Regions from separate parts of the Homo sapiens genome. Here region 2 is linked to region 1. The links are contacts of gene promoters, found by promoter capture Hi-C in blood cells and fetal thymus (Javierre and others, 2016). All regions are on one chromosome and are shown on one strand. The core of a region is centred on a gene start or on the middle of the fragment in contact, and the rest is flanking DNA. Distances in the headings are between cores, read along the strand shown. Region 1 holds the start of RASSF6 (Ras association domain family member 6). Region 2 has its middle 5.7 kb from the start of CXCL1.

Region 1 (2,882 bases), core at 116-2,615:
TGCAGCCTCGACTTCCCAGGCTCAAGTGATCCTCCCACCTCAGCCTCCCGAGTAGCTGGGACTATAGGCATGCCCCACAATGCCGGGCTAATTTTTTTTTTTTTTTTTGCAGAGACAGGGTTTTGCCATGTTGTCCAGGCTGGTCTTGAACTCCTGGGCTCAAGTGATCCACCAGCCTTGGTCTCCCAAAGTGCTGAGATTACAGGCGTGAGTCACTGCACCTGGCCTGCCTCACCTTTTGAACATATAGGATCTTACTTAAAGTGCTATGACAAACATGCAACCTGAACATCTAGAGTCATTCTGTTTGTCTGGCGTTTGAACACGAAAGATACTAGAAATTAACTCTGCCTGCTGAACTTTTTGCAGGAATCAGATTGAATTTCTTTTGAGGGCTCTCAGGTTTACACTTGTAAAATAACCTATTATGTTTAAAAATTATGAATAGTTGCTTTACATAGGAAACCAGTAAAATAACAATGATCCTTAAAAATCTGTGTGTGTGTGTGTGTGTGTGTGTGTGTAAATGTACTTCATATTTCCACAGCATCTGTCATTTAACAGTTTCTAAGCCTTTTTGGTGTCCTTTTGAAATTGGAGATATTGGATAAAACAAAGCCCCCAAATCCAATTCAGTAGATAATGACTAAATTATTATTTATCTCCTCTGTTTTGTTTCATTATGTTCATTTTCAAACTTTGATGTCTACCAGTTTCTTCTGTGGAGCTTATAAAAAATATAAATACCCGAAGTGTATGCATGGCCTACTAAATCAGAGTCTCACAGTTGATGGTACCTGGGTTTAGCAGAATACATAGGTGGTCCTGGTGCACCCTGAAGCGCGAAACGCTGCTCTGGGTGAAAAAAAGTGCTAGCAGGGAAATGTGTTAGCAAAATAACAAGGAAAAGAAAGTTAACAAATCTCAAATTGGAAAAGAAAAATCTTAAAAAGAAAGACGTGAATAATGGCGTTCAGTCTTGGTTGGTGTCATTTCTCACAGGCCAATTACCTACAGTCTGGGTGGACTAGAGAATAGAGATTAACATCAGTCAAATCCCGTGGTTAAAGCGTTAACTAGAATGTCCATTCATTTCTCAAGAAGTGTGGCAGAGAGCAAAGGAGTGTACCTATCAGCTGTTCCTAAGAAAGTAAACACTCCCAACATGCACTGAGGCACAGGGAGTGGCTCAGGTTTCTTGACACTTCCCTGCTGTGGCGAAAAGGAGAAATAATTAACAGCTCCTGGGGCTCCAGGATCGCTGATCGCGTCGGGGGCACTGCAAGCGCCCAGCTGAGCCATGCTCTGGGAGGAGACAGGCGCCGCCCCTGCGCCCGCGCGGGCCTCGGACCTCCCCTACAGGTGAGTGACTCGCGGAGTCCCAGCCCGGCAGAGACAGGGCACTGGTTTCCCTCTACCAGAGTTCCTGACCCAGCCGAGAACAAACCGCGAAGCAAGTTCAGCCGAACAACGATGGTGAAAAGGGTCCTCCTGCTCACAGTGTGAATAACAGGTAAAAAATGGGGATGGGGAAAAAAACTTTCTAATCCACTCCCTGGGGTCATGTTGAGGGCAAGTTATTAGAAAGCAGAATCCATAGGCAACAAAGTTAAGTGTGTGTGTGTCATAGCAGCCTGAATCGCACACATGCCTTTTCCTTTTGATTTTCTCAGAATATGCTTTCCTAACCAAGGTAAGCTTGTAGGGTGGGAGGGAGAGAGGGGAAAGAAGGGAGGGAAAGGGTGCAGAGAAGGGCTTGGAGGTAAATGTGACCATAGGACCCCTCCTCCCTTTAGTTCAATGAGCCCTTCACCTGTAATTGTGCCTGGCAAAAATCGTGCCTTACAAAGATACTAGACTTCTGGATGGCATACTCCTTCCTCTGAGTATCCTTATGGTTAGAATATTGTGTTGAATCATCGCACTGGAAAGAACTTAATTGAGGGTTCAGCTCAACTTTTATTTGTTTCTGCAAAGTGACAGAAAGCATGCCCCCCACCAAAAAAAAAATGAATTTTCAATATAAGCGCTCACCAAACAATGAAATAATAAACATAAATAATTAAATGGGAGTGCATGAGTTAAGGATATGAATTCTGAAGCAGAAGAGTGGTAGGTTCAAAGCTCGGCTTTGCCACTTATTAGTTTGCCCCCTCTCAAGTTTCTTAACCTAAGCCCCAAACGTTTGTCTGTAAAACAAGCATCATCAAAGGATCTGCCACATAAGGCTTTCTTTGATGGGAACTGAACAGTCAGCAAGTGTTCTGTAAGTGATACCTACTGTTAGCATTAAGAATAAGCTGCTCTGCCAAAGGGGCCGTTATCAGGGAGGGCAAGCTGAACTAGGGAGACCAGACAGTGTGTATTAGGATGCTGGAATTGAACTGGTTCCCGGAGACTGGATCCAGGACAGGCAAGCAGGTGACAGGTGTGCTAGGATCATCTCTCTGGGTAGCAACGAAATGACCTGGCTTCTTTCCATTTTTCAGATAGAGTATGTGGTGGCAAATTCAGACATATTTGCTACTCAATCAGTTTTCTTTTGAAAAATTCACATTTACATTAATCTGTTATTCCTAAAAAGAAAATAGAATTTTAGAGTAAGAGAGTTACACACAATCTCATATTGTGGAATTCATGCCATTTGGGTTTTATAAAGGAGACTGCTTTTGAATAACTTTCATCAATTTAGACCATATAATCCATGTCTTTATATTTCAGCACATATTGAATTGTTTGTATTGAAGTGCTGTTTTTAATTTGTGTTGATGGACAAGAGACATGAAGGAATAATACTTGTATTTTGTCAGTCTCTACCTCTTAAGCTTAAATTACAGGAAAGTGGCTTTATTTTATGAAGTTTCACTTAAAGGGCACTTTTG
Region 2 (2,771 bases), core at 176-2,675, 240 kb before region 1:
AGCGCTCAGGGGGAGCAGAGCTCCACAGGAGCTGCCAAGAGAATGAAGCGAATTAAGCATGTCAAGAAGCAGTGGGCATCCGCAGATTAGACAGAACTTGACTCAGGAAAATTTTCATCAAAATCACATTTTGTGTAAATGAATTGGAATGGAAAGAATTTTTTGTTGTTATTTCCTCCTTAATATGCCACTTGTATCAATGAAATCCGCATAAACCAAAATTCAAAATTTATAAGCACAGGAATGCTGTAGCCTGGAAAAATAAACAAATTCATTGTCTTGTTGGAACAAATGTTCCTCCAAGCTAATTTTTTTCAAGAGTTGAATGACGGGATTTTACGCAGTCTTTAAACGTATGCAAGCAACAATTCTTAAAGAAATGGAGGAACCTTTAAAAATGGAAGCTTTGGTAGCTAAATTCCATTTTGCCTGGAATCACTATTGAAACTTTCATAATTAGCAGTCAAATCTGGGAGCTCATGTTTTCTAGACCTGTTTATCTGTCATTGCTGTAGCACTCTGCTGCCTGCAGATGTCACCTGGCAGCTCCCTGCCTCAGCTGCATCAGGTATTTTTCACTCACTAGCCCAAAGTTTCTCTGTTGCTGCCATGTAACATCCCTTTCGCAGGAGAAACCAGAGGCAAAAGATACATGTTTTCCCATTTTTCATGCTTTGGGCAGACATTCTACATCATTTCTCAGAGGATATCCAGTAGGATTGAACCCCAGTTGCCCATGTCCTCTTTTCCTATTTTACTCTTTCCTGTTCTTGAGTCCTCTGTGTTGGGAACATTTCCCCAAATCAATTACATGCATGGCAAGCCCATGACTCAAGCTCTGTATTTTAGGGGAGCCTAAATAGAGGCACTGCTCCATCCTGAGAAGTGACCATGCTCAAGGCAGGCAGGAACCGGCGGGGCAGCTCTCCTCTGCCCCTACTTGCCTTAGGAACTCTTGTCCCTCACACCTGCTGTACCTATTTCTCTATACTCATCTCTTCCAATGTAATGACTCTGGCTCTGAGCAGAGAATAATAAAGATGTGTGAATATGATGTTAGATTTCTGGATCAGTTCACCCCCCAAAGTACAAGGGCATAGTGGGTGCTAGAGTTAGGTTCAGCCTCTCTATTCAGTCTTCCAAAGACTGCTTGTCTGGCACCCCCTTCTCGGAACACCCCCTCGATTACCAGCTCTTAGTCTGTAGATTTCAGGTAAGATAACCCATCTCTCAGTTCCTTCCTGTATGCCACCCCCAGCCCTAACCCTGCTGATTAATTCAGATGTGGACAAGTGACCAAAGCCTGGCTATATTAGAAATAGTTCCTAGAATTTTTGCTGGAACGAATGAAAAGGAGGTTCTGAATTCTCACTGGGATTGCAAAACTGGTAAAATGAGGGCCTGGAATTTTGTAATGCTTGGAGAGAACCTACCTGAGAGCGAATTTGGCCCAGAGAAAAGCAAAGGTAAGACATGAAGGGGACCATCTAAGTATATGTATGGACACCTAGGTCCTCCAGCTGGCTCTGATTTATTTATGAACTTCTCAGTCATGTAGGCCAGCAGATTTTCTTTCTTTTCTTTTTTTTGAGATGGTATAAATTAGATGTCTGTCTCTTGCCAGTGAAATAGTCTTGCCTAATACCACCCATCTTCCACACTTCTGCTACAGACAACTTTCCTACATAGTTGCTCTAGTTACTTTATTGTTAATGCATCTGTCCATTCATCCATTCAAAATTTATCTACCACTCATAATCCAGGAACTAAATTTGGCTCTAAATCGGATTACAAAGAGGGAAAAGAAGACTTTGCTTCAACTGAACTCACATCTACAGAGTGGCACAGAAAGATATGGCATTGTGTGGAGGTCCAAGACACTCAGCTGTGTGCAGAGTTTTGTGGGCACTCACAGGAGGTGAACACCTGACCCTTTTTCTTGGGAGGGTGGGAGCTTCCAGAGAAAACTTTCTGGTAGAGGGTGCTACCTAAGGTGAGTTGGGAAGGGACCCACTTCAGAAGAGGCAGACCAAACAAGCAAAGGAATGGAAACTGGCAACAGTGTAGTGTGACCTGAAAACAAAAATCAGCCGTTTATTTTTTTAACACAGAATTTAACATTTAGATTGATCCAGCAGAAGGATAGGCAGGGCCCAGTCACTGAAGGCTCCTATTTATCAATCAAGGACCATTTCAAATGTCACTTCCATTAAAATCCCATCTTTCCTTCCAAAGGGTTATCTTGGCCTTTGGATACAAATCACATTGTGGGGAGCATTGATTTACATACTCCCATACTGGATTGTGTATTCTGTAAGGAAAGCCATCATATATCTCATTCCTGTTTGCATCCACCAGACTCTAAAATTCTCTCACACCAGTGGTTTTCCTAGGGACCCATCAAAAACTATGAATATCTGGTCCTGAAAGTTCACGGGAAGCTTTGTGCCAGGACTCTGGAAAAAGAAGATGTAAACATGAAGATAAGTTTTCAAACAGGGAGTTAGAAGGAGCTAGAAGAAAAAGTCTCTAAAATGAGTCTGGTTCATGCTAAGCACTCAACAAATGTTTGCTGACATAATGCATGAGTCAATGGTTTCAGGTCACTGTTTTAAAACTAAAATATCCTTAAGTCAGGATATGTGGAAGCTTCCCTTGATGGAGTGTGGAATTTCCTTAGTTTCTTTTGCCTATTTTGACTTTTCAGGACCAGAATAAAAGATGCCAGTGGACATTTAATGAAACCAGATATGACAGTTGGGTCAGAGCCA

The links. The method cuts DNA at HindIII sites, captures the fragments that hold promoters and counts their contacts. A CHiCAGO score of 5 or more calls a contact.
Region 2: a fragment that was not itself captured here is called in contact with the fragment with the promoter of RASSF6 in region 1 in 1 of 17 cell types (fetal thymus); the score reaches 5.9 in fetal thymus.

Annotation. Positions count from the first base shown.
Region 1 is chr4:73,618,919-73,621,800 of GRCh38, reverse strand. It overlaps RASSF6 (Ras association domain family member 6), which reads left to right and starts at 1,365. Exons shown (of 11, transcript NM_177532.5): 1 at 1,365-1,513. RefSeq lists enhancers at 793-1,341, 1,342-1,891. The HindIII fragment of the contact is 3,198 bases long and covers 1-1,700 here.
Region 2 is chr4:73,862,335-73,865,105 of GRCh38, reverse strand. No RefSeq gene overlaps it. Among named protein-coding and RNA genes, the nearest start is that of CXCL1, 5.7 kb to the left of the region's middle. The HindIII fragment of the contact is 2,037 bases long and covers 407-2,443 here.